Linked DNA regions of Homo sapiens: region 1 is linked to region 2. Evidence: promoter capture Hi-C in human tissues and cell types (Jung and others, 2019). All regions are on one chromosome and are shown on one strand. The core of a region is centred on a gene start or on the middle of the fragment in contact, and the rest is flanking DNA. Distances in the headings are between cores, read along the strand shown. Region 1 overlaps PHLPP2 (PH domain and leucine rich repeat protein phosphatase 2). Region 2 holds the start of MARVELD3 (MARVEL domain containing 3).

Region 1 (5,283 bases), core at 2,240-4,739, 37 kb after region 2:
TACAGGCATGCGCCACCACGCCCGGCTAATTGTGTATTTTTAGTAGAGACAGGGTTTCTCCATGTTGGCCAGGATGGTCTCAAACTCCCAACCTCAGGTGATCTGCCCACCTCAGCCTCCCAAAGTGCTGGTATTATAGGCATGAGCCACCGCACCCGGCCCATCACTAAGATTCTTTACAGTTTTAAATTTCTATACTTACCCATTCATGACATTAACTCATCTCCACTAAACATTTATCAAGTTCTTATTATACACACAGCACTGTGCTGTGAGGCAAGTGATTCACACTGTTCCATGACTGAGCAAAGCTTTCTACATGGTAAGCAAAATAACTTAAGTGAGACTAACACCTTCAGGTTATTACAAATAGTTCTAATTTATTTTGATTTATTGGTTTAAAAATTACAAAAATAATAAACTGCTGTTAACATGGAGAGAAAGTGAAAAATAAAGAAATACATCACCAATACCAGCAATCTGAAAGAATCACTTTTATCATTTTGCTGAATTTCCTATCAAATGTTTCATATATTTGTTTTACAAAAATTTTATATCTTGCCTTTTTCATATAACATATCATAAATAATTTCTACTCCTAGAAATTTCATATTTTTAAATAACTAAGCTTTGTAAATTACAATTATTTTTTCTGATAAAAATAATATATACTCACTGAAAAAAACTGAAAAATAGAGACAAACAGGAAAAAAAATCTTTTAATGCTACTTCATTAAAATAAATTAAATAATCTCTGATAACATTTTAGTAGATAGTATTCTCGTCTTTCTTAAGGCATGAAACTACACTTTTCAAATTAAAAAATGGTATTATAGGCCAGGTAGGTGTGGTGGCTCACACTTGTAATCCCAGTACTTTCAGAGGCTAAGGCAGGTCAGTCGCTTGAGCCCAGGAGTTTGAGGCTGCAGTGAGTTATTACTGCACCACTGCACACCAGCCTGGGTGACACAAGACCTTGTCTCAAAAAAAAAAAAAAAAAAAAAAAAAAGGTACTATATTATATACACTGTATTTTTTTTTTTTTTTTTTTTTTGAGATGGAGTCTTGCTCTGTTGCCCAGGCTGGAGTGCAGTGGCGCAATCTTGGCTCGCTGCAACCTCTGCCTCCTGGGTTCACACCATTCTCCTGTCTCAGCCTCCCAAGTAGCTGGGACTACAGGCACCCGCCACCATGCCCGGCTAATTTTTTGTATTTTTAGTAGAGATGGATGGTCTCGATCTCCTGACCTCGTGATCTGCCCACCTCGGCCTCCCAAAGTGCTGGGATTACAGGCGTGAGCCACTGCGCCCGGCCTATACATTGTATTTATGATTTTATTTAACAATATATTTTAAAAGTGTTCCCATGTCCAAATCTCGTGCTTTTTTCCCTTATCCTGCCTGGATTTTTCTGACTTGTAAATAGAAATGCAGCCTCCTCAATCAGTTTCTGAGTACCCAGAACTGTGCTAGATTCTGAAAATAGTTCAAAAGAAACAAACAAGATTTCTATTGTGCCTATACAATTACAACACTGCTCAGGAAATGAACTGATAGTGGATTTATTATTTAGTACAGAACACACATTTTTAAAAATATGTTGTTCCTGAATTCCATTCAGTTTTATTATATATATTCAGATTACTCTATTTTTTGTGATGTTAATTCTTGTCTTTGTCTTTTTTTTTTTTTTTTTGAGATAGGGTCCCGCTCTGTTGCCCAGGCTGCAGTGCAATGGCGCAATCTCAGTTCACTGGAACCTCCACCTCCCAGGTTGAAGCGATTCTCATGCCTTGGCCTCCTGAGTAGCTGGGATTACAGGCAGGCACACAACACCACACTCAGCTGATTTTTGTATTTTTAGTAGAGACAGGGTTTCACCATGTTGCCCAGGCTGGTCTTAAACTCCTGATCTCACGTGATCCACCCAACTCAGCTTCCCAAAGTGCTGGGATTACAGGCGTGAGCCACCGTGCCAGGCCTAATTCTTGTCTTTATTACTAACTTCTTATTTTCATTTTCTTTGATATGTTTTAAGTTTTATATCAACCTGCTTTTGACCCCTCCAACAATAAAAGTGTCATCAAATTAGGTTTTACAGCATTATGCCTGGTACCATCCAACAGCTTCCAGTGGTCTATTATTTTCACTTTATATGAACATATTTGAGGTCAATTAGGTTAATCTGATAAAATTTCAAGAGAGCTACCACACCCTGAAATTAAGATTCTGCATTCATTTTAGAAGTCATTAAAAAAAAATGTAAAAGTAAAAAGTCATTGTTTTAATTCTTTCAAGGAGGCTGACCAGGCACAGTGGTTCACACCTATAATCCCAGCATTTTGGCAGGCTAAGGTGAGATGATCACTTGAGGCCAGGAGTTCAAGACCAGCCTGGACAACACAGCGAGATCCCACCTACACAAGTTTGTTTTGTTTTGTTTTGTTTTTTTTGAGATGGAGTCTTGCTCCGTTGCCAGGTTGGAGTTGCAGTGATACGATCTTGGCTCACTGCAACCTCTGCCTCCGGGGTTCAAGCGATTCTCCTGCCTCAGCCTCCCAAGTGGCTGGGATTACAGGCGCCCACCACCACACCTGGCTAATTTTTGTATTTTTAGTAGAGACGGGGTTTCACCATGTTGGCCAGAATGGTCTTGATTTCTTGACCTCGTGATCCGCCCGCCTCGGCCTGCCAAAGTGCTGGGATTACAGGCATGAGCGGCCACGCCCGGCCTCTACAAGTAAAAGGTTAGTCGGGTGCGGGCCGGGCGCAGTGGCTCACACCTGTAATCCCAGTACTTTGGGGGGCCAAGGTGGGCGGATCACGAGGCCAGGAGTTCGAGACTAGTCTGGCCAATATGGTGAAACCCTGTCTCTACAAAAATACAAAAAATTAGCCAGGTGTGGTGGCACATGCTTATAATCCCAGCTACTTGGGAGGCTGAGGCAGGAGAATCACTTGAACCTGGGAGGCAGAGGTTGCAGTGAGCCAAGACCACGCCACAGCACTCCAGCCTGGCCAACAGAGCAAGACTCCATCTCAAATAAATAAATAAATAAATAAGTTGGGTATGGTGGTGCATGCCTGTAGTCCCATCTCCTTGGAAGGTTGAGGCAGGAGAATCACCTGAACTCCAATCAAGTTTCTCCTGTATGTCTTCTGAAGCTCTATCTCATGTTGTAAATGGTAAATGTTCATAAAAATTATAATTTTATAATTTACATACATATAATTTCATCCAAAATTATTAATATCAAATGTCATTGCCTCACATTCTTAGTTTTTGAAAATATTATTTTTAATGACTACCTTCATGGCATAGATTTTTCTGGTGTTAAATTTTCCAGGTTTTAGCTGGTCATGGTGGCATGTGTCTGCAGTTTCAGGTACTTGAGAGGCTGAGGTAGGAGAATCACTTCAGCCCAGGAGTTTGAGACCAGCCTGGCCAACGTAATGAGATCCCATCTCTTAAAAAAAAAGTTCTAAAGTTGTTTTTTTTTTAACCAAATGTACTTTGAAAGGTATTTACTTATCCACTGACACTGTCTCAAACTTTCACAGCATTAAACATCTTTCTTATGTCTTCTTATAGGTATAGCCTGGCTAACTACTATTCATCTCTTCCTCCAGGGAGCCTAGCCCCATCCCCAGGCTCTGTGCAGTGTGACCGGCAATGTATGCATATCGTCTTTAACAGCCTGCCTTTCTATTTATTTATTTTATTTACTTAGTTATTTTTTTGAGACACAGTCTCACTCTGTCGCCCAGGCTGGAGTGCAGTGGTGCAATCTTGGCTCACTGCAACCTCCGCCTTCTGGGTTCAAGCAATTCTCCTGCCTGAGCCTCTCGAGTAGCTGTGATTACAGGCATGTGCCACCACGTACGGCTAATATTTTGTAGTTTTAGTAGAGATGGGGTTTCACCATATGGGCCAGGCTGGTCTCGAACTCACGAACTTGTGATCCGCCCGCCTTGGCCTCCCAAAGTGTTGGGATTACAGGCGTGAGCCACCACTCCCAGCCAAACACCCTGCCTTTCTTAGACTGCACTGCAACTGCCCATCCACTTGTTTATTTTCCCAATTTGACTATACATTCCTAGAGGACAGAGACTGTAACTGTTCACAATACTTGACATATAGTAAGCATTCCATTTTTGTATTATGAATAAATAGATAACAGTATTTTACAAAACAGTGCTGACAAGAGAAAAGAAAAAATTGTCTTCAGAATCTGTTTCATAAGCCTGTACTTTTCTAGATTGACTATTAGACCATAATTAAGAAGTCACAACTAAAAATTAAACATATTTTAACCAATTTTCCTGGTTACCAATACTTAACAGGGTACTAACTATTAAGATGAGATTTTGCCACTCAACTAGTGAAATCATAGCATCTGTAAGTCAGTGAACGTAAACAAAGAGTCATAGTCAGATGGCTATATTTTTTCTGACAAATATAGAATTAATGTTGTGTATTTGAAATGATCAAAGTTTGCATTCATTTTACCTTGCAGGAAAGGTCTGTAACTGATTGTTTGCAAGGTGCAAGATTCGCAGGTGCAGGTGCCCTACCAGGACAGGTATGCACTGATCCGTCAGGAGATTGTTGGTCAGATAAAGCAGCTGCAGCATACTCAAACTCTCCTCTCCAGTGCAGGCGGATGGTAAAGACTCCAGACTATTTGCAGATGCATTCAAGTATCTGAGACTGACAGAACACACACAGATCATCACCTCCTTTAAGTTTATTTGCTGCCTTCCTATATAGAAACCATCATGTCACCTCAGTATGGAATGCTGCCATTCTAAGCTTCCAAATGGGAAAAAAAAAAAAATCTCCACGTAGTTTTTCTCTAATTGATCCTATCCAACCCAAAGTTCCTTTTACTCAACTCATGCAAACCAAGTAGAGAGGAAAAAGTACAAGCCTGGTTGTTTTCCCAGGCTTCTGGAGTGCCTGATTCTAACCTAACTTCATCTTTTACTCTCAAACTGCCTACTGAAAGGATGTTGCTGAATATCATGTTCACATGTTTTTGAACTGTGAAGACACCATTTAGAAAAACTTTTGTCTGGGCCAGGCGCAGTGGCTCACGCCTATAATCCCAGCACTTTGGGAGGCTGAGGTGGGCAGACTACAAGGTCAAGAGATCAAGACCATCCTGGCCACCATGGTGAAACCCCGTCTCTACTAAAAAAAAAATACAAAAATTAGCTGGGTGTGGTGGTGCACTCCTGTAGTCCCAGCTACTCGGGAGGCTGAGGCAGGAGAATTGCTTGA
Region 2 (5,194 bases), core at 284-2,783:
CCACCAACTCTACTCCCAGGGACCTCCTTGTCCAGCTCCCGCGTTCCTCAACCTTCTCTCTTTCTGGGACATTTTCTCAGCCTTCTTGTCATCCAGAACTCAATTCAAACGACATCTTCCCAGGTCTATATGAGGAAACCTGCCCTTCCCATTAAACTTTAGACACTGTCTTCTTTGTTTACTACCTGTTTTCCCTTTTCCTGACACACTAGAATGCAATCACCCTGCAAGCAAATTTTCCACTATATCTCCAGTACCTGCTAAAGCAGGTGCTCATACATATTTGCTGAAAGAATTAATTACCAGATGGCAATTGTATATATTTTGTAATATCCTTACTTGGCAGAATTAAAAGCTGCCAATTTTGTGTAAGTCCCCATTTTAAAAAACAGGGCTATTTGTAAGCCCAGGACTATTGTGATAGATGAACTGGCTGCAAGCCCCTTACAACATAGGTGTTATAAGGAAAACAGGAGAAGGGAGAAAGAGGGACAGTGGATGGGTGGAGGGAGAAGTGGAAGGTGGGTGACTGGGTGGATGTGTGGGTAGGTTAGTGGCCAGATGGATGGATGAATGGGTGAGTGGATGAATGGTGGATGGGTGGATGCGTGGGTGGGTGGCTGGATGGGTGAGTGGGTGGATGAATGGGTGGATGGATGGGTGAGTTGGTAGATGGGTGGGTGAGTGGGTGGGTGGATGGGTGGATGAGTGAATGGGTGGGTGGATGGATGGTGGATGGGTGGGTGAGAGTGGATGGTTAGGTGAGTGGGTGGATGGATGGGCAGGTGAGTGGGTGAGTGGGCGGATGGTAGATGGGTGGGTGGATGGGTGGGTGAGTGGGTGGATGGGTGGATGGATGGATGGAGGGTGGGTGGGTGGGCGGATGGGCAGGTGAGTGGGCGGGTAGATGGGTGGTGGATGGGTGGGTGAGTGGGTGGATAGATGGATGGATGGGTGGATGGTTAGATGGGTAGGTGAGTAGGTGGATAGGTGGATAGACGGGTGTATGGATGGGTGAGTGGTTGAATGGGTGGATGGTTGGACGGGTGGGTGAGTGGGTGGATGGGTGGATGGATGGTGGATGGGTGGGTGAGTGGGTGGATGGGTGGGTGAGTGGGTGGATGGGTGGGTGAATGGATGAGCGGGTAGTGGGTGATTGGGTGAATGAATGAGTGTCTGGCTGAGTGAGTGAGAGGATGGGTACCTCTGGGAAGGTAAATCCAAGTTGCAGTGTAAGTTGAGCCAGGGGAGGTGGCCACAGTTGGCTCCCTTAGGCCGCCCACCTCGTGGGGTCACCAAGGGGTTACTTCGGGGCAGAAAGGTGCGGCTGTGGGTCGCCCCGCCCGGGTTTCCAGCAGCAGCACCCCAGCCCCCACCCAGCACACAGGCACCCCTCCCGCCCGGGCCCCAGACGCGCTCAGGCCGCCCCCTGAGGGCGCCCGTTCTCAGGTGAGCTCCCGGACTAGCGCGCATGCGCACAGGTGAGTGCCCGCCCCGCCCCCGGGCTTGGCCACCTGCCCAAGAAACTTGTTGGTTGTTGCCCTCAGGTCGCTCCCGGGCGGGGACACGGAACCCGGCCATGGAAGATCCGTCGGGGGCTCGCGAGCCCCGGGCCCGGCCGAGAGAGCGGGACCCGGGACGGCGCCCCCACCCAGACCAAGGCCGCACCCACGATCGACCGCGGGACCGACCCGGGGACCCGCGCAGGAAGCGAAGCAGCGACGGGAACCGGCGAAGGGACGGGGACCGGGACCCGGAGAGAGACCAGGAGAGGGACGGGAACCGCGACCGGAACCGGGACCGGGAGAGGGAGAGAGAGAGGGAAAGAGACCCGGACCGAGGCCCCCGCCGGGACACACACAGGGACGCGGGCCCTCGCGCAGGTGAACACGGAGTTTGGGAAAAACCGCGCCAAAGCCGGACGCGGGACGGAGCCCGGGGACTGACCTGGGACGCAGCCGCGCCTCCTGGGCCCGCGCCCTGGGAAGCCCCGGAGCCGCCGCAGCCGCAGAGGAAGGGAGACCCCGGGCGCCGCAGACCCGAAAGGTGAGAGGGGCCGGGGCGCTGCGACCTCCGCGCCGGGGACACCTGTGGCCCAGGCCGGCCCGCGAGGCCCTGGCGTCCCCGGGTTCTCGTCCTAGGAGCCCGTTTAAATGAACAAATGCCGTTTCTCCCTTCTGCGCTCTCAGAGGCGACCTGGCAGGGAAGGAAAACTTTAGGGTTCCCCCTTCTCGTGGCCTGAACCCAACTAACAAAGCAAAAACCACCCCTGTGAGCAGTGGCTGGGCTGGAGGACCTGGAGAAGAGAAAGAGAGGCCCCGGGACCCGAGAGGGAGGGGTGGGAGGAGACCAGGCGGGTGGGGTTCACCCCAGGCTCCTCCCCGGCCCGGCCCGCATGGTCACAGGACTGCGCCTTGGGGTTCAGACCCTTGTCCCGTGTTCCAGAGCCAGCCCTTCCCGACTCCAAAGTCCCCTTCCTTGTGGCCGGGCCGCCCACTTGGGAAGCCCGATGAAGAGTTAATAGTTTAATGTGTTACCCCTCCCAGGAATAGGTGCCTTCAGAAACAGGTGGGCCGGCGCGGTGGCTCATGCCTGTAATCCCAACACTTTGGGAGGCCGAGGCGGGCGGATCACCTGAGGCCAGGAGTTCGAGACCAGCCTGGCCAACATGGTGAAACCCCGTCTTTACTAAAAATACAAAAACTTAGCCAGGCGTGATGGCAGATGCCTGTAATCCCAGCTACTTGGGAGGCTGAGGAGGGAGAATCGCTTGAACCCGGGAGGCGGAGGTTGCAGTGAGCCGAGATCGCACCACTGCACTCCAGCCTGGGCGACAAAGCGAGACTCCGTCTCAAAAAAAAAAAAAAAAGTCAGATGGGAGACGCTACATTTTTAACCAAAGAACAAAGTCTACGTAAAATTCTCCCACTGAAGGGTACAGGTTTGTTTTCCCTTTTGCCAGTGAGGTCTCTCTAGGCAGCGTCATTCGAATCCCACGGCTGCTTGAGACCGCACCCTCCTAATGAAAAAACTTTGCCATCTCTGCCTTGCACAGAATTCCCATAGGCCCCTTGTAAGGAGAAAGGTTCAGGGTGTACTGGAAGACTCTGTGAGCTAGGGGAGGGTGGGGGGGGAAGGGAAGACAAGAGGGGACCTGGTCCCCACACCGCCTCCTAGGGACCTGGTGTTTTTTCCATCCATTGAATACCCAGATAATGTGCCCCACACGGTGAACTGTGAGCAGATGGGATATCTCCCCTGCCAGCTCCAACAGGAGACAGGTCCGAGGTGACGACTGCTTCTGGTTTTTGACACCTGGCCTCTCCTCTAGGGAGGAGTCAGGCTCCCCTCTCCCAGGGACTTGGAGGCTGAGTCCAGTCTGTCTCCCTGCTATGTCCACACAGCGGGAGAGCTCCTATCCTGAGTTTATGTTACATTATCTAAAACTAACTAGCATAACAAAGGGTGCGCCCAGATACAGTCAAAGCTTCGCCCAGGGAAACAGCTGTTGTTTCCCTGACTAAAGCCCATTGCACTTGCAACTGCAGGACCTGGGAGAATTCAGAGCTGCATTTTTAGGTTTCTTTAAAAACCACTGTCCGAGCCGGACGCGGTGGCTCACACCTGTAATCCCAGAACTTTGGGAGGCCGAAGCGGGCAGATCATTGGAGGTAAGGAGTTCGAGACCAGCCTGGCCAACACTGCGAAACCCCATCTCTACTAAACATACAAAAAAATTAGCAGAGCGCGGTGGCGCACGCCTGTAATCTCAGCTACTCGGGAGGCTGAGGTGGGAGGACTGCTTGAACCTGGGAGGCGGAGGTTGCAGTGAGCTGAGATCTCGACACTGCACTCCAGCCTGGGTGACAGAGTGAGACTCCATCTCAAAACAAAAAAAAAAAAAGGAAGACTGAGGAGGAAGAGGAAAGGTGTCCCAAGGAGAAGAATAGCTTCTGTAGTAACCCAGAGGCATGGAAAAGCAGTCATCTTTTGAGGGGAAGGGGGTAGTTCAGTATGGCTGGGTCTGCGAGCATGAGGTTGTGAGTGTAGAGAGATGAACAGGGGCCTCCTGTGCATGCTAAAAGTTTGAAAAATTTCAAACCTAAGAGAGACATGATGTTCTAGAAAGACTGTGGGAGCCTGGCAAGTAGAATGCAGCCCCCTGTTGAATCTTGGACAAAGCCCAGGATGTGCTGCATAAAGCAAGGAGAGAAGGGACAGAAAATGCTAGGGCTGCCAGAGGAGGAAATGATGTGATGATGTCAAAATCCGTGGTCTGCAGCTCCCATGCTCCTGGAGAGTTATTGCTGACTCAACACTTTCCAAAGTAACAAAGGGAGGAAGAGAATGCCTGCCTGGGCATCAGAGTCATGTGAATGCAAACTGGTTTTGAAGAGGCCTGGTGCATGCTGAACTGAGAACTTGCACTCACAGGAAGGCAGCTCGCAGCTACCTGGTGAGACAGCTCCCAGGGGCAGACAAACCATCAGCGGTACCAATCACAGCATCTGTCACGTGGTTAGTGGAGCTGGGCCAAGTATTTGGATGTCCCGTGGGGCCACTAAACCAGAGAATTCTCTGGAGTTTAAAATACCGGGACAAATTCTATTTCTGTTCTGCTAATATTTGGGCCCAGCACGAGGAGTCAAGAGTTCTAATCCTGAACGCTATTGAATGAGACACCCCCTAATGACCATGTATGCTTTTTGGTTATAGTGAACCCCCTTCGGAGAGATATCTGCCCTCGACCCCCAGGCCTGGACGAGAGGAGGTGGAATATTACCAGTCAGAGGCGGAAGGACTCCTGGAATGCCACAAATGCAAATACTTGTGCACTGGGAGAGGTGAGCCGTTTTGCAGGCTGTTTGATCATTTACTGTCACTGGTGGTTCTGGAAGGGATGGTCTGAGCTGGTGAAGCAAAAATTTAAGCAGATTCCCTTGTGGGTTCCTAGCATTTTCATTTCTGTACTTGTGAGGTTCTTGTTTTCTTAAAAAAAAAAAAAAAAAAAAAGGAGGAACGTCTCAAAAGTGCTGCTAGATTTCCTGTGCTTCTCCTTAAACATGCCCTGGGTTTGCAAAGGCAAGCAGCCATGTTTGCAGCTTTCAGACTCCAGGTGGAAGTGCAGAGGCCTGTAGGTGGAACTGGCTATGAGCTGCCAGCTGTCAGAGGAGGGATCTTCTGGCGAGGCAGC

What was found. The method cuts DNA at HindIII sites, captures the fragments that hold promoters and counts their contacts. A contact is called where the count stands out against the background at its distance.
Region 1: a contact is called between a fragment that was not itself captured here and the fragment with the promoter of MARVELD3 in region 2, in 3 of the 25 tissues and cell types used here (pancreas, spleen and stomach).

The regions. Positions count from the first base shown.
Region 1 is chr16:71,659,390-71,664,672 of GRCh38, forward strand. PHLPP2 (PH domain and leucine rich repeat protein phosphatase 2) reads right to left here. Exons shown (of 19, transcript NM_015020.3): 13 at 4,510-4,710. Among named protein-coding and RNA genes, the nearest start is that of MARVELD3, 36 kb to the left of the region's middle. The HindIII fragment of the contact is 7,294 bases long and covers 1-5,283 here.
Region 2 is chr16:71,624,651-71,629,844 of GRCh38, forward strand. It overlaps MARVELD3 (MARVEL domain containing 3), which reads left to right and starts at 1,534. Exons shown (of 3, transcript NM_052858.6): 1 at 1,534-2,046; 2 at 4,717-4,844. The coding sequence starts at 1,580. RefSeq lists a silencer at 2,355-2,404. The HindIII fragment of the contact is 11,141 bases long and covers 1-5,194 here.